Linked DNA regions of Homo sapiens: all the other regions are linked to region 1. The links are contacts of gene promoters, found by promoter capture Hi-C in blood cells and fetal thymus (Javierre and others, 2016). All regions are on one chromosome and are shown on one strand. Each heading gives the region's core, a stretch centred on a gene start or on the middle of the fragment in contact. The rest is flanking DNA. Distances are from core to core; before and after follow the strand shown.

The links. The method cuts DNA at HindIII sites, captures the fragments that hold promoters and counts their contacts. A CHiCAGO score of 5 or more calls a contact.
Region 2: a fragment that was not itself captured here is called in contact with the fragment with the promoter of VWA3B in region 1 in 2 of 17 cell types (erythroblasts and megakaryocytes); the score reaches 6.0 in erythroblasts.
Region 3: a contact is called between a fragment that was not itself captured here and the fragment with the promoter of VWA3B in region 1, in 2 of 17 cell types (M2 macrophages and M0 macrophages). The highest score is 7.7, in M2 macrophages.
Region 4: a fragment that was not itself captured here is called in contact with the fragment with the promoter of VWA3B in region 1 in 7 of 17 cell types (M2 macrophages, megakaryocytes, naive B cells and 4 more); the score reaches 11.5 in M2 macrophages.
Region 5: a contact is called between a fragment that was not itself captured here and the fragment with the promoter of VWA3B in region 1, in 1 of 17 cell types (M2 macrophages). The highest score is 5.9, in M2 macrophages.
Region 6: a fragment that was not itself captured here is called in contact with the fragment with the promoter of VWA3B in region 1 in 9 of 17 cell types (total B cells, M2 macrophages, naive B cells and 6 more); the score reaches 14.2 in total B cells.
Region 7: a contact is called between a fragment that was not itself captured here and the fragment with the promoter of VWA3B in region 1, in 1 of 17 cell types (M2 macrophages). The highest score is 6.4, in M2 macrophages.

Annotation. Positions count from the first base shown.
Region 1 is chr2:98,085,617-98,089,086 of GRCh38, reverse strand. VWA3B (von Willebrand factor A domain containing 3B) reads right to left here and starts at 1,920. Exons shown (of 28, transcript NM_144992.5): 1 at 1,724-1,920. RefSeq lists enhancers at 1,191-1,691, 1,726-1,795, 1,692-2,192. The HindIII fragment of the contact is 2,164 bases long and covers 954-3,117 here.
Region 2 is chr2:97,776,723-97,780,192 of GRCh38, reverse strand. All of the region lies in intron 31 of TMEM131 (transmembrane protein 131), which reads left to right. Among named protein-coding and RNA genes, the nearest start is that of ZAP70, 65 kb to the right of the region's middle. The HindIII fragment of the contact is 4,038 bases long and covers 1-3,470 here.
Region 3 is chr2:98,386,898-98,390,367 of GRCh38, reverse strand. CNGA3 (cyclic nucleotide gated channel subunit alpha 3) reads right to left here. Exons shown (of 8, transcript NM_001298.3): 6 at 594-710. Among named protein-coding and RNA genes, the nearest start is that of CNGA3, 42 kb to the right of the region's middle. RefSeq lists a silencer at 2,083-2,270. The HindIII fragment of the contact is 5,884 bases long and covers 1-3,470 here.
Region 4 is chr2:97,796,682-97,800,151 of GRCh38, reverse strand. It overlaps TMEM131 (transmembrane protein 131), which reads left to right. Exons shown (of 41, transcript NM_015348.2): 26 at 2,636-2,787; 27 at 3,166-3,308. Among named protein-coding and RNA genes, the nearest start is that of ZAP70, 85 kb to the right of the region's middle. The HindIII fragment of the contact is 2,650 bases long and covers 594-3,243 here.
Region 5 is chr2:98,358,010-98,361,479 of GRCh38, reverse strand. All of the region lies in intron 1 of CNGA3 (cyclic nucleotide gated channel subunit alpha 3), which reads right to left. Among named protein-coding and RNA genes, the nearest start is that of CNGA3, 13 kb to the right of the region's middle. The HindIII fragment of the contact is 2,396 bases long and covers 577-2,972 here.
Region 6 is chr2:97,814,692-97,818,161 of GRCh38, reverse strand. TMEM131 (transmembrane protein 131) reads left to right here. Exons shown (of 41, transcript NM_015348.2): 13 at 2,855-2,963. Among named protein-coding and RNA genes, the nearest start is that of ZAP70, 100 kb to the right of the region's middle. The HindIII fragment of the contact is 3,223 bases long and covers 288-3,470 here.
Region 7 is chr2:98,341,737-98,345,206 of GRCh38, reverse strand. No RefSeq gene overlaps it. Among named protein-coding and RNA genes, the nearest start is that of CNGA3, 3.0 kb to the left of the region's middle. The HindIII fragment of the contact is 1,746 bases long and covers 735-2,480 here.

The DNA of each region.
Region 1 (3,470 bases), core at 671-3,170:
ATATATTGGCCGGGCACGGTGGCTCACTCCTGTAATGCCCCCTTAAAGTGCCAAAGTGCTCTCTTGGCACTTTGGGAGGCCAAGGCGGGCGGATCACCTGAGGTCAGGAGCTTGAGACCAGCCTGGCCAACATGGTGAAACCTCGTCTCTACTAAAAATACAAAAATTAGCCGGGCATGGTAACACACACGTGTAATCCCAGCTACTAGGGAGGCTGAGGCAGGAGAATTGCTTGAACCCAGGGGGCAGAGGTTGCAGTAAGCCAAGATTGCACCACTGCACTCCAGCCTGGGGGACAGAGCGAGACCCTGTCTCAAAAAAAAATAAAGGGGGATATATTATTTTCTGATAAAACTATGCTATTTATTTATTTATTTACTATTATTCAGAGTTTCCTCAGCTGAGGTTATTATAAATTGGGGAACCAAGTAACCCAGAAGTCGGAAACAACAACATACCGGAGTTGAGCATTGCCCTAAGTTTTAGAGGCCATCCCAAGAACCATACATAGAGTTTGGATAGGAAAGTATTTCCTTAGAAGAAGGAGGAAGTGTAAAAGGAAAAACAAGGAAGTGAAAGTCTGAGCTGAAAATGTGGGCAGGCAAAGCTTTGGGGAAAATAGAAAGGTTAAGCTGGCAACTGTACAAGGGCCCCGTCTACTGGAAGCAGATGCTCCTGGGCTGCCCTGGGCGACAGTCTTGTGAAGTCAGCATGCCCTCAGAGAAAAGGTCCTATGTGCTCGGAGGTTCAGGGACAGTGCAGGGTTGAGAGTCCATTAATCCAGTTTAGACATTCAATAAGCTTCTAGCTACTTTATTATCAACACCCCAAACTTCCTATACCCCTGTTAGTTTCTGAAAAAGAAGTCTGGGCTAGGTGGATATATATCTTGTGATTTAGGTGAATTTGTGAACGATGATTTTTCCAGGAAGAAAGGAAACTGGGACGAAGCTTCATGATGGATCCTGATGCAACTCTTCCCCAGAAACCCTTAAACCTCCTCCCATTTTTTCTGCCCTTAAGGGACAAGGCTTGGCTGTGATCATTGGCTCAAATAATGTGGACAGAGACAAGGATATTGAAACGGACTGTCCCACCGTTGAGAAAATAGTCAAGAAGGCAATATCTGAGAATAATTGGAGTGCTTTAGGAGGAAGGTCATTGCTGAGAAGAAACAGAGCTTCCAAGAAAATGAAAGGAAAAGCTCTACCAAATGGAAACTAAATCTACTTATTAAGTCTTATTTCCATATAAGGAGGGTGAAAGAAACTGATATGATTGTGAAACCATGTAAGTGTTGCTTTGGCTTTTAGACTATACATATTTATCCTTATGTTCAGGAAATGTGTTTCTTCTGGTTCCCATGTTCCCTCCAAAGCCCAGGTGGACTTCATCACCTTGAACTGCTGGCCTATGGCATAGACAGAAACTAGGAAAACCGCTTTTCCACCAGAGCGGCTGGGCGTGGGCTCGGGTGAGGTGTGATGGAAAGAGCTCTAGAGTAGGAGGGGTCGGTACCTTGACCCTCGGCTTGCCCTGGGTAGCGGACGATTAAGTGGGCCAGGGCAAGTCACCGAGCTTTCCTGGTACTGTTTCCGCATCTGTAAAGTGGGCGTGTAGTCCACCTCAGAAATGGCATTTTTCCAAGACCTCCCTAGGCCGCTTGTTGGAAGGCTCGGCACCTCGGCGGCTCTCGTGCGGCAGGCATCGCTCCCACACTTACTAGGCAATATGTCGGGTGGAAGACGTGGCGGCTCCCGCTCAGCAGCCACCCTCCCATCCTCCCGGGCCCGCCTGACCCGAGAGGGCGGGCGAGGTAAGCATCCCGCTGGTGGATAAGGCAGCGATTCCGGCGGGCGAAGGCTGCGCGCCGGGGGCGAAGGATTCCAGCTGTTCTAGGTCTCTGTGACCCGCGCCTCTGGTTCCGAGCGCGGTCTGTTGACGACGGCGTCTCCGCGGTTGCCTGGACACGGCCAATCACAGCGCGGCTCCTGGAGCCGGCCCCGCCCACAGACCGCGCCCTCACTGGGGCGATGGCTGCGGACCGTGGCCAAGAGGGCGGGGCGCCGAGGCCGTCACCGAGCCAGGTGCGGAAAGCCGGCGTCCGGAACCACCCGGGCCGGGACGACCTCCACCCCAGACCCCCAAACAGAGGCCACGCTAGAGGGACAGGGCGAGTGGCGTTGCCCCTTGCGCCTACTGTCAATGGGAAAATTAACAACAGCGGAGAATATGAATGAAAGAATGAATGAATTAACAAACAAATACACTGATGAGCTGGGGTAGAAATATAGGGTGCGAGCAGACAGGGGAGGAAGGCGCCAGAGGCCGAGGAGAGGCGAGGAGACTGCGGGAAACGCTACAAACGAACTTCTTTTCATACTTTTCAGCAGAGCATTGACCCCTGTGTAGTTTTAATTTTCACCTCACCACTGTCAGGCGATGCTCTCTTCCTTGCACAGTTCAGAGAAAGACGCTTTAAAAGAGGTGGGGCAGTTCGTTGTAGCTCAGCCACTGGACGTGGGCGGAGCTGAGACAGACAGAAGGGACAGGGAGCTGCAATTTTGCAATTGTGGAGGCAGGGGCTGCAGTTGCCAAGAATATTCTTACCTGTTTGACATGAATATTTCTATAGGCATTATTTTCTCCATTCAGCTTTGTTTTTAACCTTTGTTTCAGTGTTACCTTATCAATTAAGCAAAAGGCTCTAAATATTTTCCTATTTTTCCAGTCACCAGGAAATAAAATTGTGCTTATGAAAAGTATCTTTAAAGTCTTAATAAAAGACCCCACAGTAAGTATTGTTTTTAGGGTATTGGGATAGTAAACGATTTTAGATTTTAAAATTATAGAACTGACCAGATCATTTGCAGGTTTTTCAAAGAACTAATAAAACATAGTTAATGTTAGAACTGAGTAATTCTGTCCCCCCAAAAAAAGTCTGCTTCATCCACAGGAATTTATTTCTCCTGCATTCTTTTAATGCCTCTATCATTTAAAAAGTACTGAAAGATTTCATTCCATATCACAAATCATTCCTGGCAGTTATTAGTTTATATATATTTGGCCCTGCAAATGAAACCTGCCATCCACACCACCAAAAAACAAGCAAAAGCTTGATAGTACTGAAGACTGTTCAGAAGGGAGTAAAACACCAGCCTCGCCCATGTTTGCCAATGACCCATTAATCCTTGCTGTCCACACCCTGCCACACTAATATTCTTGGGTCACGGGGGTGAGACAGAGCACACAGCAACACATAGCCAAATGCCCTGCCTCACATGGTCACGCCAGGCACTCTTGTTCCCACCTTCACCCCATGCCTGCTCCTTTCCCTAGGACACTTGCCACATACGTGCAAGTCACCAAGATGATCTGTCCCTATCTTTCGTGTTTATGTGTCTATAAGCATACATTCTGTTGAAAATGTGAAACATTACTTACTTAAATTGTAGAATGATAAGTGAGTA
Region 2 (3,470 bases), core at 457-2,956, 310 kb after region 1:
CAGGGGACAGAGAAATAGGAAATGAGGCCCTGCATTTTTGCCAGCAATTCCCCAACACAGGTCTCTGATAAACCTGGATAGAATTTATACCTAAAAGCCAGGGTATTCTTTTGTTTTTGTTTTTGTTTTTTTTTGTTTGTTTGTTTTTTGTTTGTTTTGTTTTTGTTTTTTTGGAGAAAAGGTCTCACTCTGTAACCCAGGATGGAGTGCAGTGGTGCAATCATAACTCACTATAACCTCAAACTCCTGGGCTCAAGAGATCCTCCTGCCTCAGCCTTCTGAGTAGCTAGAACTACAGGTGTGTGCCACCACACCCAGCTAGTTTTATTTTAAAATTTTTTGTAGAGATGAAGTCTCACTATTTTACCCAGGCTGGTCTGGAACACCTGGCCTCAAGTGATCCTCCTGCTTTGGCTTCCCAAACCTTTGGGGATTACAGGCCACTGCTGCGCCCAGCCCTGGGATTCCTAAATTGACCATACATTATTACTGTCACCTGGAGGTCTTGTTAAATAGATTGCTGTGCCTACCCGCAGAGTTCTGGTTCTGTAGGTCTGGAATGGGGCCATAGAATTTGCATTTCTAACAAGGTCCCAGGTGATGCGGACTCTGGGGCAACAGGGGACACTTTGAGAACTACTGACCTAACAAAAGATTTGGAAGAGTCTCTCCTTTCTCTGAAGGCCAGTTTTTCTACTGGAACCCAGCCCTAAGGAAGAGACAAGACCCTTAGGAACACGCTTGCCCTGAGAGTCAGCTTACTGCTTCAGCCCACCCAGGGGCAAGCGGGAGGCAGAGGCCACTCCCTGTGGGGACAGAGACTGCCTGCAGCTAGACGTCGGCCATCCAGTCTTATCAGTCAGGTTAGGGAAGGCATCCAGTATTATCAGTCAGGTTAGGGAAGGCACATTGTCTCCCCTCCCACTAACATTTGAACTTTTGGGTATCCAAACAGCAGAAGAAATCATACATGGCCCTGAAGTAGCTCCTAGCCTGGGTGGTTGGATTGATGTTGATACCATGGACCAGTGGCTCTCAGCCTGGGTGCACAGTAGAATCCCTAGGTTCTATCCAGAACTGTTGAGTCAGAATCTCTCTGAGGGGTGGGGCCTAGACCCTGAGGGGTCGGGCCCAGACTGCAGTATTTTCTTTTTAACATTCCATGTGTTATTCTGAAGTGTGTCTGGTTAAGAACCATAATCACAAACTTGAGAATCCACACGATGTTTTTGGGATAGTTAACTCAGTTTTGGACATTTGGGACTTGGATTGTTGATGTTAATGAAATTGAGCCCTAGGGAGAATGTAAAGGAAAAAGAGAAAAAGCTCCAAGGGCAGATCTCTAGGGAATACCAGCAAAGATAGAGTCAGCAAAGAAGTTGTCAGAAGAAGGGGTTCATGGTGGGGCCTGGCAGGAGCTACATTCTACAGTGTCCAGTGGAACGGGAAGGTCATGTAGAATGAGGAATGATAGGCATCATGGGCTTCAACAGGTTAGAGATTCTTGTCAGCCTTTCCAAAATCACTTTTGTTAAGGTGCTAGGGACAGAAGTCGAAGGACTGCATATTGAGTTAATAAGGTGATGATTTTAAGATAAAAAGGGTAAATTACTCTTCCATGCAATAATTTTTTTTTTTTTTTGAGATGAAGTCTTGCTCTGTCACCCAGGCTGGAGTGCAGTGGCACGATCTCAGCCCACTGCAACCTCCACCTCCTGAGTTCAAGCGATTCTCCTGCCTCAGCCTCCCAAGTAACTGGGATTACAGGCACATGCCACCATGCCCAGCTAATTTTTATATTTTTAGTAGAGATGAGGTTTCATCATATTGGCCAGGCTGGTCTCAAACTCCTGACCTCAAGTGATCCGCCCTCCTCGGCCTCCCAAAGTGCTGGGATTACAGGCCTGAGCCGAATTAATCTTTTGTTACTGAAGTTTTCAACTTAACTATTGTTATGTTAGGTATTTTTTGTCTACTCATAGCTTCACTTTTTGAGTTTAGTTTTTGAAAATTCATTTCCAGCCATTTCATATTTATTATGGAAGTTTCAGGTTATTGTAAATATAGATTATTTATACAGATTTACTGCCCCTCACCCAATGAACCTAAGCATGATAAAATTGTATAATTGCAGGTGAGAAGTTTATTATATGGGGAACTGATCTTGACTGTATGGGAAATTTTGAAGTATTCTCAGCCTGGGCTGTTGAACTCTCAGAATGTAAGAAATCCCAGAGCTCATGGAGCAAAGCAGGACACTCCCCTTCCTGTCTACCATGATGGGGAGAAGCTCTGGCTCTTCGATGTAGGTCAGGGGCCTGTTTTTTGTTGGTTTGGTTTGGTTTGGTTTGGCTTGGTTTGGCTTGGTTTGGTTTTTTGAGGCAGGGTCTTGCTCTGTTGTCCAAGCTGGGGCACAGTGGCACGATTATAATTAAACAAACTAGTCAGTCCTATGCTTGAAACGAGATGCCCCTTCAATTTTTGAGACTTACTATCCAAGTTATGGTTTCAGATCTAACACTTCTTGTAATCAGTGTGCAATAAATGATGAAATGACATTCCTGGAAATCACTAAGCGATTTACTTACTCTTTTTCTAGCTCAGGCTCAGCAGACTTTTTCTGTAAAGGGCCAGGTAGTAAATGTTTGAGGCTTTATGGGCCACAGACTATCTCTGTTGCCTCTTCTTATTTGTGTCTTTTTTTCGACCACTTCAAAAATGTAAAAATCATTCTTAGCTCACAAGCCATAAAAAACAGACTGCAGGCCAGATTTGGCCCATGGGCCATAGTTTGCCAACCCGTTTTAAACACTGAGGTTCGAGTCTCCCATTAATGGTGGCATTCTCTGGGATAACGCCTAAAACATTGGAGTTTTAATTAAGTTGTATTAAGTCACCATTATCGAAAAGATGTATTAGAAATTATGACCCGTACAGACTGGGTTAAAATGTGGCTTGTGTGTCTTCTGCAGCTTGCACCTGCCTGCCCGCCCAGGTGATTTTGCAGGCACAATCTGAGGTGCTAGAACCTGGGGCTTTCTCTGCCTCTGTCTAGTCCTGCTGGATTGTAAGCTCCATGAGGGCAGGAGCTTGCTTGTTGTTTGCTACTATGTTCCCAGCACACAGAACACTGCTGGGAAATATGTTCGGGGCTGGTTCTCATTTGTCTTGATAGCATCCAGATTTTTCCAAGTAGTTGGCTTTCCGTATGTCCATTTTACTCTCTGTCCATATATATACACAACATTACATAGTACTCATGCACCAGTTACCATTCCCAGGGATTATGTAATTCCTCAGTACAGCCCTGTGTGGTCTTGTGTCTCCATCTTACAGATGAGAGGCCATGATCAGGCAGCTAGTTTGTAGAAAGCTGCCAGGGTTTGCACCCAGCCATTATGGCTACACTGCTGGGACTCTTAGCGCCCCTAAAGGGAAGCACTTGAGTGGCTCGTTGTTTATGTCACCAT
Region 3 (3,470 bases), core at 379-2,878, 300 kb before region 1:
AGACCAGCCTAGCCAATATGGTGAAACACTGTCTCTACTAAAAAAAAAATACATATATATATATAAAAGCCAGGCGTGGTGGCTCATATATGTAGTCACAGCTACTCGGGTGGCTGAGGCAGGAGAATCGCTTTAACCCGGGAGGTGGAGGTTGCAGTTAGCTGAGATCGCGCCACTGAACTCCAGCCTGGGTGACAGAGTGAGACTCTGTCTCAAAAAAAAAAAGAAAAAAATAGTAGCAGCTTGCCCCTGCCTCCCTACCCTGCTGCATGTTCAGAACCACCCACTTATCCCTCCAAAGAGAAGCAACCGCCCCTGCATCCTCCTCGTACAACTCACTTGAGGGGGCCCCACAGTGCCGAAACCCTGGCTGTCCACCTGAAGCTCAATTCCCCACCCATGCTTCAGAGCACTCTGATGGTCCTCTTGGGGAACCTTCTATTTTTAAAAGGAGAAACCGAGGCACAATAACTAAGTGGTGGCCGTGAGGGGTCCAGGCCTCAGGCCTCCCGAGGGAGAGGTGGAGCTCTGGCTCCTGGGCCTGGTGCCCTGGTTTCCCCCTTTCCGCTGCACCTTCCACCCCTGTCGCTTACCTGCAAATAAGCAGATACCAGTTATAGAAGACAGGCAGGGCGATGGCGGTCAGCCAGCGGTAGTACAGGTTGCTGGACGGGTCCACCACGATCGCATCCTTCTTTTTCGTCTTCTTCCTGGAAACCCACACATACACAAACAGCGCACTGTGCTCCAAGACTGTAGCTTTGGAGGGTTTTAGAGAGCCTAGGGCAATTTCAGGCTGAAGCCCAAGATGTGGCTGTCCACAACAGGGTCCTCTTAGTCTCAAGGGAGTCACATGGGGAGTCCCTGTAGGGGAAGGCAGGCCAGGAGGTAGGGTAGACTCCAGAGGTCCTTCTCTCCCAGCTCAGTCCCAGGAGGTCACGGTCGACTATAAGGTAATGGTGATGACATTCCCATGTGCCCACGACAACATCCACACCCTTCAGGATGCTGAGAATGAAAACGCAGCATGGCAATGTCACAGAGGTCTGCTAAAGTCTGGGGAACTTCCAGAAAATTCTGATTCCCAGGGCCCACTCACCTCTTCCAGGGCTGGGCCTGGAAATATGCATTTAAGCATTGCCTGGATAGTTCTGAGGCAGCCCCTCTCTGGACAGAGTTGGGGAGCCCCACAGTATTCCCTCCAGAACCCTCTCCACCTCCCTCACTGTGTTTGTGCGGACGATGTAAAGGCTCATTTCCAAGGGCTTGCATCACACCTCTCCATCAAAAGCCTGGGAATAACCTGTCACGTGGGCCCGCACGGAATGAAATACATAGCTTAGAGTGCTTAACTTTTATTCTTAGAATTTCCCGCAGATTCAAGTTTACAGGCTGTACTGGAGACTGCCTTTTTGTTGGGTCCATGTGTCCCCTCTGCCATCCCATGCGACCCACGCTGGCCCAGGCCTGCAGAGTGCTCCTGTGCTCCATCGGAGACCCCAGTGACTTCCTGCCTTCACCTGGATGCTGCAAGTGCAAGGTCACTCACTGACCGGGCTTTGGGACGTTCCCTACAGCTCTCATCACCACTGAATTTGGGTGAAAGTTTGTGAACATTGTATCTTCCAGTGCCCCAGAGAAGCCCTCAGCCTACGTGTGGCCGGCCCACTTGTGAGGGCAAACGAAATGCTTCGGGTGGGGGGCACATGAGCAGGCTCACAGGGGCAGCCCCCGGCTGCCCACCGGAGGCTGCAGACAAGCAACTCTCTTTACTTATAAGCCCCCCTTGAGTTCCCGGAGCTTGGAGAGGATTCTTTCTGCAAGATGGGGGCTTCACATGGTCTCAGGAGGCATGGTCTGCAGCCTGCTGGGACCGACTTTTCCTCAGCTCCAAGCACCCTCTCCCCTCCAGGGCCGAAGCTAAGGCCCCCTGATAGCGTTGCTCCAAGATACCCAGCCCTGGAGCCCTGCAGGGAGGGGTCAGGCCTGCTGGGACCATGGCACCCCGTCTTTAGAGGCAGCTTCCTTCAGTACTTCCTCCTCGTGTTTTAGGTAGCTTTTCTCTCTTCTTTTTTCTCTTCGTTCTTTTCTGCCTTGCTGCTGGATGATGCCGGGGCACATTTAGCAGACTTCATATATCAAGGACATTACCAAATGGAAGGGGCAGGCTGCTGCGTCCCGGAGAGAGGGCGTGGCGTGTGGCGTCGTGGAGACGTCCTGAAGAGAGGGCGTGGCAAGGGGTGCTTCCAGCGCATTGGGATGAAATGGGGTTATTGATTTGTTATTATTATTCCTGAAGCGTGAGGTAAACCACCCCATTGAGTATACATTGAGAAATTAGTGGCTCAGTCTAATGTTCTACAATTTCTGATCTATTTTCATGAGCTCCTGGGAAGTCACAAACAGCCAGAGACTGGAGACGTTTTGAGGTAGTACGACATAGACCCAAATCCACACATTGAAGTTGGGAAAGTTACTCGGAGTTTTGGAAATCCCACGCCAGGCTCTCCGTTCTGAATGGAAGGGTGTGGCCTGTCCGCTGTTCTTGAAACCTCTCTCTGGATCAAGTGAAAACCTGGGCCTTAATGAGAAAGCCAGTGAGCAGAAGGGAAGCAACATTCGAAGAGGCGGGTCTGTGACGCATGTAGTGGCAAATACGTGTGGTCGCAGGTTCGCAAATGTGGCCGAGTTCAGACACGCCTTCGGACTTTGCTGGGCTGCGAGACGGTTCAGGCAGCGTCCGCAGGATGGTCCTGTGACTGCAGGTTTTTCTTCAACATAAGACTTCACACTGCTGCCTCTTCTTTATTGGGTGTCTTTTAAGAGCTAGGAACTCTTATAAAGTTATCTAATGAATACATGTAAATTTCTTCAAGGCAGGCAGTAATGCCCCATTGAATAGTTGAAGAAACAAAGGTTGCGGAAGGGACAACCCCTCGAGTCCCCTTCAGGCCCCTCTGATTTCTCTCTTCCACACGCTGAAGGAAGGCATGGTTGAGAGATAAATTCTGCTAATTAAACACTCATTGAAAAAGATCCATTCACAATTACCTAACACTTCCTATGGAAATAATCAAGGCTGTGTGCGATACGTGTGGAAAAATAATCACTGCCATTATTCATGACAATCAAAAAGGGAGAGCCACCGAATCACACGACCATGCAGGCTCATCCTCAACGGTGAATTCTACATGGCCACTTAAAACGCTGTTTCAGAAGAGCTAGTGACGTGGGAAAACGGTTCCTAATATTTTGCTAAGTTAAGAAGCAGACTACAAAAGAGTTTACCGTAATAGCTGGATCAGTTTTCTATTTCTGCCGGAACAAATTACTGCAAACTTATACAACATAAATGTATTATCTTGCAGATCTGTAGGTCAGAAGTCTACTGTGGATCTCACCAGACTAAAATCAAGGTGTTGACAGGGCTGCCATCCCCCAGAGTCTCTAGGCGGGGCTCTGATTCCTGC
Region 4 (3,470 bases), core at 669-3,168, 290 kb after region 1:
AGGTTTCTGGTTTACATCCATCAGTGTTTTGCCATATTAGAAACTGAAACTGAGGCCGGGCATGGAAGATCTTTAAAATAGTGATTTAATTTGTTTAAAATAATAATAAACCTATTCCATTCAACATAGGTAACATCAAAAATGAAAACTACCTATATTTTAAAAAATCATTTAGCAAGGAGAATGGATTTTTTTTAATTTTTACAACTCTCTTTAATGGCTGGCTCCCTGACTTAATAGACAGGTAGATTCTCATATCTGCCTCTACATTCAGTCTCTCTTGATATATTGTTTTGATCGAAGTATGTAATGAAAATCTAACCTGCTACAGACATGTAATTACAAAAAGAAGGAGTATTTTAGTTGCCTTTTTATTTATAACACTGTACATCAGTCTTTTGGAAAATACTGGTTCACGGAGACATGCAGACCTTACAAATGTTGCCACAATTCACTATGCACTATCCAAAAATGAATCATCCTCGCTAATCTAACCACCAGGCTCATCAGGAAACTCTTGAAGTATTGGGAAGCTGTCATGCTCACAATGGTGAATACAAATTATCCAAAATCCTAAATTTTGCTCAAAAGCTTGAATTTTATTAGAAACAAATACTTCAGTAGGCTCACTTATTTCTGTGAAAATACCTGCCAGATGCCCAAGTCTGAATAACCATGGACTGTCTGTCATTCTTTCAGACATAAACGGTGTTCCATGAGAAAAGCAGCTAGTTCAGCTTCCATCTCAAACAGCTTTTCAAAACAACATGGTAGCTGTAGAAATACTTTTTACATACTTCCCATTGTATCCCACAGAATATTAAAGACATGCTCCAGGGTTGAAGTTTTTATGGCATAATCGAGGACTTTTTTTTTTTTTAAATACAAATGAATGACACTGAAAAACACAATGGCTGCTAGGAAAGTTTGATACCACTGCTTTGATGCATGCTAAGGGGTCAGCAGTTTTACCCTCCATGGCTTTTGCTGACCATCAGTGCAGATGCCAACATAGTGAAAAAGACAAATAACGTCTATCGGTATTATTATGAAAATAGTTTTGACATCGTGGTGGATACTCTGACAGGATCCCTGAGATCCCCAGGGGTCCAAGGGTCACTCTTGGAGAACCACCACTATAAAATTATTAAGGTCCTGAATGGTATACGGGAGGCATCACAACATCTTAAAGTTTTCCCCAAACCATGAGAGTTTAAATTAGCTAGTGCTTGCTGGGAATATATGTATAGTACATCATTGTGTCCATCAGTTAATCAGAGTAGTTGATTTAAAAGGGAAATTACTCACCAACCATCTTGAAGCAGTTGGAATATTCTTCTGTCTTAGTGGACTTTGACAGAAAGGAAAAAAATAGCAGTTAACACTTGAACAACACAGGCTTCGACTGTGCTGACGCACGCATACATTTTTTTCAATCAAGTGCAGATGGAAAATACAGTTTTCAGGATGCAAAACTGCATATATGGAGAGCCCTACTTTTTGTAGGCACATTCCACAGTGGCCAACTGCTACTTGAAAAATCGCAGATTTGGTTATGCCAGGAATCCTGGAACCAATCTCTGGCATGTACAGAGACAACCGTATTTACCTCAGAAGCAAGAATTAAAAGTAATGTGCTTCATAAAGTCTGTTGACTCTGAGTTAATGTTTGTGGAATCATGCTGAAGCAAGTAGCTAGATCTCTATGTGTGAAACACACACCGATCTATGCCAGGGGGAGTAGAAAACAATACAAAATGCACCCTCCTTCCATGATAGCAGAAGCCATGAAGAACTGGTGGATGTTTATAGCCAAGCGTTGACAACCCTTCCCTCAAAAAAGTTTACACTTAATGTTGCTTAAAAACCAGAACGGTATATCCTTATATGTGACCTGTGACTGTTTTTGTAATAAAAAAGCAAATGTTTTTCAACCTTAACTATAACTGGCTGTCAAAAAGTCATATTTTGAATATTAAACTAAGCTATGCTTTAAACTTTAAATCATTGGGTGTTTATGAAACAGTAAGCGTGTGTAACCTTCAAAATAAGATTCAAGGAGAAATGTATAGGAATTGGAAATCTTTTTACATTTAAACATTCGGTGCAGCCTGAAGACCCTTCAGCTGGTCCCCTTCAGAGGGGAGGAGTGGCGTGGCAGTGGCAGGAGGCCTGAGGTGTTGGCCCTGGTCCCCTTCAGAGGGGAGCAGTGGCGGGAAGCATCAGGAGGCCTGGGGTGCTGGCATTGGTTCCACAAGTGTTTGCTTTGTGCTAATGTGTCTAGCTGATCATCTTAGGTTTGTGTCCTTTTCTGTGTGTGGAATATTTCAAATTTTTAGGTTAAAAACAAAAAAGATATGTATCCAAAAACAAATGCCTTGTGCAAACATTGAGGACTTTATTTGGTGACCTGGGGAAGAAAGCCCCTTTTTGGACTTAATGTAGAATATGAATCTCATCGTTGGTTACTCTGTGCTGCTTTCCAGCTAACCCATATCTAAACATGACAGATAAAATTGTTTATGCATTTAATCAGTTTGAGAAACTATACTGGGCTCTAGATGGGGTGTAAGCGAAGAAACATTCTTCCAGAGAATATATTCATGACTCCTCTCTGTTTACCCAATGATTCAAGGCTCATCCACTGCAGAGTTCAACAGGATTTATGGAGGGCCTCTCTCGACATTTAATTTTAAACCTAATTTTAAAACCTGGAGAAAAGAAATCTGTCAAAGTAAAGTTTACTCCAGTTCACAACAGAACTGTTTCTTCACTTATCATAGTCAGGTAGGTTCTGTGATATAGGTGTGGGTTCATTTTTACTACTTACTTAGAAGTCCTCACTTGTTTTAAGATGAATTTGCATGTCTAACTTATGAAATAGTTTGAATTCACTTTGTCCAAAACATGCACACACTCCATGCCTGATGAAACATACCTTTGTTATCAAATGCATAGTTCAAAAACATGAATGGTGTCTTAATGTGTGTCTCTTAAAAATAAAAACTTGCTCTTCTCTGTGTATTTTTGAATTCTTAAAGTATAAATTCTCACCATTAAATTTAATTTCTATGTGGTGCTCTGTAAAATAACAGTAGAAATTGCAAATCAAAAGATTGTGCAGATTTAATGAGAGAAAAATCTGTAATTCTCATTCTTGCATAGAAATAACCTGACTGTGATGGATGCTGTGATGGTCCAAGGACAAGGAACAACTGAGAACTTGAGGGTGGCAGGCAAGCTTCCAGGTCCAGGAAGCTCCTTACGCTTTAAAATCACGGAAGCATTGTTAAAAGATTGTACAGATAGTAAGTCTTCCTAACAGTTTCAAGGACACTAATTTCAGCATTTGCTTTCAACAGTAAATAATTTCAAAAACAACATTATTTCTGTATGTGCACCTGTGTATATTAGTTATGAATGCTTAAGAGCTTAAGGAAATTCCATGTTGTGTTTAGAGTTGTTTGATT
Region 5 (3,470 bases), core at 525-3,024, 270 kb before region 1:
GGCACTATTCACAATAGCAAAGACATGGAATCAACCCAAATGCCCATCAATGATAGACTAGATAAAGAAAATGTGGTACATATACACCATGGAATACTATGCAGCCATAAAAAGGAATGAGATCATGTCCTTTGCAGGGACATGGATGGAGCTGGAAGCCATTATCCTCAGCAAACTAACTCGGAAGCAGAAAACCAAACACTGCATGTTCTCACTTATAAGTGGGAGTTGAACAATGAGAACAGGTGGACACAGTGAGGGGAATAACAACACACACTGGGGCCTCTCCAGGGGTGGCAGGGAGGGAGAGTAACTGGATAAATAGCTAATGCATGCTGGCCTTAATACCTAGAGATGGGTTGATAGATGCAGCAAACCACCATGGCACACATTTACCTATGTAACAAACCTGCACGTCCTGCGCATGTACCCCAGAACTAAAAATAAAATAAAATAAATAAAATAAAATAAAATAAAATAAAAATAAAAATAACACACATATTCATGTGTGTTATCCAAATAGTAGTAGTTATAATATATTGAAATCTGATTTTATTCCAGTCAATGTGCTAAGCTTTTTACATCATTGTTTATTCTAACATGAGAGTCTCTGAGGTGGATGCTATTAGTGTCTTCATTGCATAGATGAGGAAATGGAGGCTTATAACAGGTTATGTAACTTTCCAAAGAACGTGTGAGGTCCAGAAGCCACATTAGGACTCAACCCTATTTGACTTAGTATATGCAGACTTTGGCCAAATCCTTGTCTCCCACCTCCCCCCGGCCTCATTATTTTCAATACTTTAAAATGGAATGTTTATATGTTTTTAGATAAAAAAGCAATAAATCCAATTCAAAATTGTCCATTCAACACTTTTTAATTGAGCACTTACTATGTGCCAGGCAATATGCTAGAAGCTGGGGCTTTATTAGAGAGCTATATGCAGCTCTGTCCTCCAGGAGCTGACAGTCAAGTGGGGTGCAGAGCAAGTCTCAAAGAAGTTTGGGACTCTGTGGAAAAACTATCGAATTACTCTTCTTTGTACATTTCCAGGCAAATTACACCAAATAAAGTGCATTGTCTCCAGCCTGTGCCCCTTCCTTCAGCCCCCTCAGCTGCTTTCTCTATCCTGGGCACAAACTCTGGTCCCACTGCCATTGCATGGAGGCAGTACCTCTGTCCTCCCATAGACCTGCCTCCTGTTGAGGGCCACTAGGTGCCAGCCACAGGTGAGTGCTGTGCAACACTTCCTTACTTAATCCTCACAGCAGCCCCCCTCCCTCTCTTACAAATGAAGAAACTGGACAGGTGAGTCATTTCCTTAAGGTTGCTGCTGAAGGCCGGAGCCAGGATTGACTAAAAATCTGTCTGACTCCAAAACCTGAGAGTGCAAAGTCATTGAGGGAACTGGTATTGCCTTTAGGCCTGGGCAGGAGGGGTCTCTGCTTTAAAGGACCCCATGCTGGCCCTCCTCCAGCCACATCCCTCCCAAAGGGTCGAGAAGCCCATAGAATCAAGGGGCCATGCCCACCGGGAACCCTGCCCCTGCTCCAGCTATGGTCTGAATGCCCCAAACCCCCAGATTCTCTGTCCAAGAGGCTTTCAACTGGTTCTAGAGCCTGCCTGGGACTCTTCCCTGGTCCATCTCCCTGAGTGCACCAGCTTGCACTCCCCTAGGCCCAAGGATGGCCAAGGAGCAGCTGTTTGTGGGGGGTGGGGGAGACAGAGCCTGGAGATGTGGCCAGGGCGTCCACAGACAGGTGTGCAGGGCCTCCTGTGCAAGGCCCCTTTGACGTGGTGTGGACCTAGGGCTGGGGACAGAAGGGGGCAGGTTGTGGGCAGGGAACCAGAGATCAGCTCTCCTCATGACTTCCTGCTCTCAGGCTCAACTCCAAGGGGCCTGAGTACTCTCGGTTTGAACCTGGCCTCCAGGTGGTAATGCAGTGTATTTGCCAGTTTAGGAGGGTGGGCACATTTGATTTAACAGTGTGCTATCTTGGTCCATGTAATGGTCATTTCTGGTCCTCTACCTCGCATCCTTCCTGCCCACCTTTCAGTCCAGCCATTGCTATGGCAACCAGCTGCATGCTGGGTAACCCATGTACTTTGCCTCAGTGACACTGCAGATTCTAGGGCCTTCTGCCTTGGGGGCTTCCTTACTTCCCCCAGGAAACACTTGCTGAGACCACATCACCGTTCTGATACATGTGCAAAAGCTGAAGGGGTAACATCCTTGGGGCAACCCTGGACCAATAGAAGCAGGAGCCTGAGGGAATATACTCTTCCATCCCTCAGGAAGGTGGCTCTGAGACACTTTCTACCTGGCTCCTTGGAGAACCCCTGGTTGCCCAGAGTGGCGATCAGTTTGATAATGGACATCTGGGTTGGCTTGTCCTCTTTCCCTTTTGCCCTCTCCAAGACCCCTACTCCTGTTCCTTGGAATCACTCCCCAAATAAACTGCCTGCCTGCATTCCCTGTTCAAGGCTCTGTTTTGGAGGGGAGTGGGTATCACTGCTAAGAGAATCTTTAACTTTTAGATATTTGGGCTACAGTAAGTGGGTCATTTGTACTCTTGACCCAAGTCCCTCAAGGTTTAGGAGTGAGCCAAGTTTCCCTTTTAATTCTATGTTCTTTATCCAGGAAAACAATGGTTGGAGTAGGACAGGGCAAAATGTACATCACTAAAGGGAAATGTAAGTTTAAGATAACTCAGAAGATCTTTTTTCCCTATTGTCTCATAAGTGTCATAAATGGTTGTCTTTGAAAAAATACATTAAAAAATCAGGAGGAACCAAATAAGGAACCAATCTTGTTGATTGGTTGTTATATCTTCTTGGTATTTTTACCTCTAAAGTTTTTCTCTTTGTGTAGAAATTTCATTATTTGTCCAATGGAGTTTACTACAGTATGAATTTTTGCTAATTCCAACTTTAAAATGTTATCTACTACTGGTAGCTGTACCCAGAAGCTTGGTCAATTTATTAATTTTTTTTTGCATGACAATTTCATAGGGGATTCTTTGTTCTTCCATCAGAAGGTACATAAGATCTTATATTTCTCTGGGGGACATTAGCAGCTGTTGATGTTCATTTGCTAGATCCATCAATTCATTAGAGGTTGCAAGTTGGTGGTATTCTACCATTCCTTCCTCAATTAGCTGAAATATTTTTAAAAGAAAAAATTTTACTCTTAATTATTTGATTGGTCAATTCCTATAGGAAAGGCCGAATAAACAATTATTTCCCTGTATTTATCAGTTTTTGAGTCATGACATCTTAAGAGATTACCCAACCACTGCATGTGTTTTCACATCTGGCCCTGCCTTGATAAACTCTTTGTGAGTAGAACTCACCAATGAGATAATGAAACCACAATCAGTGATCCTGAGGCTCTGTGGACAATGAAAGCTGCCATCTAGCCAGGGCCCCCTGGGTGCGAGGCACTTCCATATCCATCACGCGTGAATCC
Region 6 (3,470 bases), core at 650-3,149, 270 kb after region 1:
AAAATAATAGACTTTATGACAGAATTGTCCAGTTAGCTATTATTTCTAATGTGTATAGTATACATTTTGATACTTGAGGTGTTAAGCCAGACTATACCATTTTTATAGCATGTTTTTATTTAGTTTTGCCTACTTTAATTGGAACATTCATTGAATTTGCTGTCACAACATTTTTAAAATAATGACTTAATGGCTGCTTAACCATACAGATAATTAAATGAGAATTGAACCTCTGAACAGGGCTTTTTTCATAGGCACCCATGCAACTGAGTAGCTGCTATTAAGCTTAAACTTTGGCTTTATGATAAAGCCATCTGTGCTCAGAGTCCACATAGTAAAGCTCAGCTCCTCATCGGATGAGAATATTTGATCAATGAATGTAGGAGGACACTGGCACACTTCACACAGTGTTTATGAGAGTATCTATGCCTGCTGCTCACTGTGGAGAGTTCTAGGGAGGGTCTGGAGCAGCTACGGAGGTGGGGCTGGCCTCAGGGTTCATCCTGTGAGCTCAGTGAGGACTCTCAAGGAATAAAAATCACATAGGCAGCATACTTCATGATACAGTTGTCAAGAAATAGTATTATAGAAGACATTAATGCCACAGTAATTTCTACATTTGTGGTAAAGTGTTCTCTATGCTGCTGAGAGACCACATTCATGCCTACCAGTGTCAGTATCACGAGGTACATTGTCTTCCCTTACAGAGGAGGAGGCGGCTAATTTTTGTATTTTTAGTAGAGACAGGGTTTCACCATGTTGGCCAGGCTGGTCTCAAACTCCTGACCTCAGGTGATCTGGCTGCCTCAGCCTGGCAAAGTGCTGGGATTACCGACGTGAGGCACTGCACCCAGCCAGGATAAGAGCATTTAGGACCCACCCTTCACAGATGTGCCGGAAAATTCTCCACATGGTCTGCAAGGGTGAAGAGCTGCTCTGCAAGGGTGAAGAGCTACTCTTCTCTAGCTCCTGTATTGACCACCCACTTAATCTTTCCCTTCTTGAGATAAATGCGATGTCATTAGTGTTGGTTCTTCTGAGATCGTAGGCTCTAAGATAATTGTTTCTTAAAGAAATATGTAAAATTAAATAACAACAGCAAAGGGAAAGCATCTTTAAGAGCAAATGCTACATTTCTTAAAAGTAGGTTTTTAATATCATGTGAAAATCCCCCCACCATTCACCTCTCCCACTGCCATGCTGGATCCCCACACAAAATACCTCTGAGATTGCTGTGAAAATCAGTCAGGAAGTGTGTGTTATTTAACTTTTAATATTGTTAGAATGCACCTTATATATGTATTAACTCTGCAGTGTTCATTTATCAAGCATCTTTCTCATCAAAAGTTATTCTTCATGATTTTCAACAGAATTTTCTTGAGCTTTTTGACCACTTTATTTGCTATGTATGATACAATGTCATGAAATGCTTAAATGTGGCCCTTGTAATCAGTCTTACGTCAGAACAAATAGTGAAAAATTGAAAGCATCCAGAGATGGCTAACTAGCAAGCAGAGAAATAAGAGGCTGAATGGGAATTTTTAAAATGGAAAGTCTGTGTCTGCCATAGTCAAACACTAGATGTCATACCATTTCCTTGTTCTTTTTTGTCATGAGGTTGGATGACACACATTTGCGGAACTCACATATGAATTCTTCACATAAATGGAAGTGTTCCTAAAGTACTCTAAGAGGATAAACATAAACAGCTTCTTTATTTGCTTTGAAAAGAACCATCTAATGGGTACCTAGATTGGACCCAACTGAATCAATTTCTGTAATTCCTTATTTATTTATTTATTTTTTAATTTTTGTTTTTTTGGGTCAGAGTCTCGCTTTGTTGCCCAGGCTGGAGTGCAATGGCGCAATCTCGGCTCACTGCAGCCTCCACCTCCCAGGCTCAAGCGATTCTCCTGCCTCAGCCTGCCAACTAGCTGAGATTACAGGCACGTGCCACCACACCTGGCTAGTTTTTGTGTTTTTAGTAGAGACAGGGTTTCACCATGTTGGCCAGGTTTGTCTCGAACTCCTGACCTCAGGTGATCTGGCTGCCTCAGCCTGGCAAAGTGCTGGGATTACCGATGTGAGGCACTGCACCCAGCCAGGATTATTCAAAACTGCTATGAAATCTGAAGTTTTTACTTCATCTAAGATGAGGACAATATAATATGATGACAGGAGGGGATTTATCTCCTCTTATACCATGAGTTTTAGGGTTGGCTGGTTTTTGAGAAGAGCTCTGAATTCTTGACTTTTCTTATACCATGCTACTTTATTGGTGATAGAGCAAGACTTTGGCCATACAAGAAATGTTATTTCTTTCTCAGTTCAAGTGTAAATCAGCAGGGCTAAGTGGGGGGTAATTTTGCCTCCAAGGGGATATCTGGCAATGCAGAGAGGCATTTTGGTAGTCACAGCTGCAGGGATGCTACTGCCGTCTAGCAAGTAGAGGTCCGGGATGCTGCTAAACATCCTACAGTACACACAACAGCCTCCGCAACGAAGAATTAATCTGGCCTAAAATGTTAACAGTGCCAAGGATGAGAAATTCTGCTGTAAGTAAAGCCAAAGCCTGTGGCTACAGCAAAGCAGCTTAGGTACAGTGTTTTACCTCCTGAACCATGCTCACCAGCTAATTCCTTATCTGCTTATCTTATTACAGGAAATATAAAACATTTTCCCCCTTTTGTATGAAAAATGTGATGTTTCATTTAAAATGTTATAAAAAGTGTTCTGTTGGCCAATTTGGAAGCTCAACTTTTTTTTTTTTTAAGATTTTGTCAATTTACATAAATTCACTAATTCTCTTTGGTAGTAAAAGGTAACAGAGATTATTTTTTATGCTTCCTTTCAGCATCGAAGGCAAAAAAGCCATCTCAGTTTTCTGGGAAAATAACAGTTAAAGCAAAGGAAAAGAGTTATTCTAAACTTGAAATACCATATCAAGCAGAAGTTTTAGATGGGTGAGTTTCTTTTTAAAATAAATTCTATTACTTTTTACTAATCAGTAAATTATATTTTCCTGCTAAATGACCTGCAGAAATACTAGCCACGTTCACATAAACTTGATGGAATTATTTTTTGAAAGAACAGCCCCAACTATAAAAGAGAAAACCTCCTATATTTTGTTTATATTTTACTTTTTTAGAAGAAAAGGGTAAGTGGGATGATAGGATTTGGGCTTAAATGAAGACTTAATGATTCAAAAATCTGATTTTTTAAATATTATTTAAATCATTTGAACCATTTCCTTTCTGACATTTGTTTGTAATATGTAAGTGATTGTGGCCTATTATTAAAGTATTTTGACACTCGAAACAGAATTCTTTATATTCCTTTATAAATTCATAAACACTTCTAGAATTACAACTTTTTATAAATGGGAAGTGACATGTTCATTTTCTATTGTACTTTAACCAATAGTAGTTTAATACTCAACTTGGCAAAGATTCATTTTAGCAAAGCTCCTT
Region 7 (3,470 bases), core at 358-2,857, 260 kb before region 1:
AGAAAATATAATAGATGAGACTTTGCCTCATTGAGGACTTCAGTATTCTTATTCCAGGGAATCTCCACGTGCCTCAATTATGAATCTCCACGTGCCTCAGTTGTTATGTGCATTTTTTTTATAGTTCTCATTGTCAGGAAATGCTTTATTTCTTCTAATCTCATTAATTTATGCAACAAGTTAAAGCTGTTTCCTGCTGGCTTGTCCTCAGGGAAGACTGGAAGCAGATGATTATTTTCTGTTGTCCAGAAACATTTCAGAGTTTCAAAAGAATCTTAAATCCTGATTTTGGAGTAAATAGTAGTGATCATGAGATCATTTTAAGGCATCATCCTGAAAAATCCCCTTGGACTTTGTTTCTGAAATGCACATCATTCCTAAGATTTGAAGGGGAAAACAAGACCTCACAGAATTAATCAAGAAATGGAGAAGTGTCCTGAGTCTGATGAAATGAGATAGAGTGTTTAGCACAGAAATGGGCACATAGTTGGCCCCTAGGGAATGATGTATGTGGCAATAGTTATCATTGAAGAACTTTGGGTGTCTGAAAAGTGGAAACAGATGAAGAGACTGGAAATGAATGGAAAGAGACTGAAGGGGATGTATCTGTGAATTTGCCTGCAAAAGTCATCGAGCTGCAAGATCCTAGGCTGCCATGATGGAGGGTCCAGATTTGGCCCAATGCTCACTCAATGGAGTGGCCTCTGGGGACCTTTCCAATTATTGCTCAAGCTTCAACTGAGGCATGGTCGAGTGTGGAAGGGACAGCAAGATTTTGTGAAGATGCAGGATACAGCAACCTCTGAATAAATTAGTGGGATGCTCTAACAGGCCCATGGCACTAAGAGACCAAGGAGCGCGATTCTCAGAAACCCAAAGTCTTTTGGTGTTTGTTAGAATAGGGAGACCACAGGAAGAAGAGAGCTATGGAGAAAGCACCATCTCCTCTTTCTGACAGAGCAGGTGAGAGTGGGAGGAAGGGGGTGGGGGCCAGGTGAATGCTAAGTTGCTTCAGCCTCAGCCAGGACACTAAGGAAGTGGGGAGGGGTCTGTGGGGAAAAGAGTAGCACCCAGGAGCTGAGGAAGTCTGGAGCCAGGGAGCCTGATGAGACCAGTTCTATCCACCTGTGAATTCGGTGCCAGGAAATGAAAGGAAAATACCAGCCAAGCCCAGATGTATTGAGTCTGAGCGTAAGTGTGTACATGTGTGGCTCGGGGGACTCCTCAATGATGTTTAGTTGTGTTTTTGAAATTTAGAAACAATGTGATAGTCTATGTAGTCTCCTGGGATTTGCTTTTGTCAATGAATATTAGGTTAGTAAGATTTGGTGATGTTGCTTGTAGCTATAGTTCATTTAGTTTCACTGTGTAAATAATTTGTTATTTATTTATTCTGTATGCATATTGTACACATTGCTTTAAAAATAGGGGCGGGAAGAACTAAATTTTTGATTCTAATTTTGTAAAATCTTCCCAGTCCAAACAAATTTTAGATGTACTAGGGACCTGATATTTTATAGTCAGGGTTGAAAGGCACACAAATAGTGCCCATAGGTAGGCAACAGGACTGCTGTCTCTGCTGGGGGCCATATGGTGTCCAGTGTGTTAAAGAACACACAATCTCATAAGTAGATAAGCCAGACTAACCGACGATACACAGAAATGCAAACAGATAAACCCAGTTATCAGCAAGGAGGGATGTGTGAACTTGCTTTGGCAGATGGTCTAGATCCTTGGCAAATGATAAGGCAATTTGTAGGAATGGCTTTTGGGAAATAAAATATTTATGAGGAGACAGGCAAGGTTTACATGAGAAGCAAGATGCCTCAGTTTTCCCCGCAGGAATTCTGTCAGTCAGTGCAAAATTGCAGGATGGGGAGGCCCCAAGTTGGGGAAAAGCAGTTATTTTCTGTCTTTAAAGCCCACTTTGCCTGTTTCCTTCTCAGGCAATCAAGATGATGGCATCTATTTCTCTCACCTACCTGGCAGTTGGAAGAATAGAAGGAAAGTTAAATTAAATGAATGAACAAGATTTGAAGAGTTAGAAATTCTAACCAAATACCATTAAGAGCTTGAGGAGGACTGTGGGACCATAGGATCTAATCTATCTTGTCCCCTGGGGACTCCCTGTCTCTTTCAGGTCAGCTTTGCAAACAGTCGCTATAGGGGCTGCCCTTAAGACCCCAGTGCCAGCTTTCCACTCTCCAAATTTCTACTGTCTGACCATCAATGCCTGAAGTCCTACCATTGGAACGTCATCTCTCTATTTTCAAACTTGGATCCCTTTTAAAATGCCAATAACTCCATGAGATAGAGTGTGGATAAAGAATCAAATACAAAGTTTTGGTAGGAAAAATTGAGGAGCACATTTGAGGATCCTGCAGGCCAGTGAGCGTGGCATGGGATGGGCGCCATAGCAGGAGGTGGGTAAGATCAGGGGGAAAGGGCACAGGTGAGACTTTAAATACTGAGGGCAAGCTTGGCCCCGGTTACAACTGAGCCTAGTCCTGGCCCAGCGAAATCACTTGAGCTTTTCTCTAAGCCTAAAGCCTTCATTTTCCACCCACAAAAGAAGGACAATCACCTTTTCTAATTGCTAAGCTGGCAATCAGTGTGCTGGATGCAAGGCTGTTTTTGTGGATTGTGATGTGAACGGCATCAAAGTGCTCGCTAATAGGTGTGATATGCTCTGGGACTCAGTACTGCTCAGTTTGACATCATTATCACGGCCTTGGGTGAACATATGGAGTTTCCTGCATATTTTAATATGGATACGGAGTTATAGAATGTATAGCTAACATGCACTCAGAATATATGGTGACTAAGGAGTATAAATCAAAATCCAAAAAAATCTTGAGAGCCTTCAATGATGCACTAAATATACAGGCCAAGAAAAGACATAACAGGAACACATGTAAAGTTCTGTATCAGCGTCCAAAAAGTCAGCCCCCCAAGTACAGGAAGAGGAGACGTGGCTTACCAGAACTCGCTCAGTAAGATGCGAAGCCTCAGGGTGATGTGTCTCCACAAAAATTGGCAAAAAGTTAATGAGAAATAAGGCTGACTTAATAGAAGTATATCATATAGAAGAGAGGTGAGTCTTGCTCAGCTCCTCTCTGTCAACGTACCTGGATTATTTTGATTTTAGTTGCCATATTTAAAAAAATTTACAGACATCACTATATTAGTCATAATATAACTTTAAAAATTAGCTGGGCGTGGTGGCTCATGCCTGTAATCTCAGCACTTTGGGAAACCAAGGCGGGAGGATCGCTCGAGCCTGGGAGTTTGAGATTAGCCTAAGCAACATAAGGAAATCTCATCTCTACAAAAAATAAAGAATTAAAAAAAATATGTGGGCATGGTGGTGCACTTGTATTCCCAGCTACTTGGGAGGCTGAGATGGGAGGATTGCTTGAGCCCAGGAGGTCAAGGCTGCAGTGAGCCATGATCGTGCCACTGCACTCCAG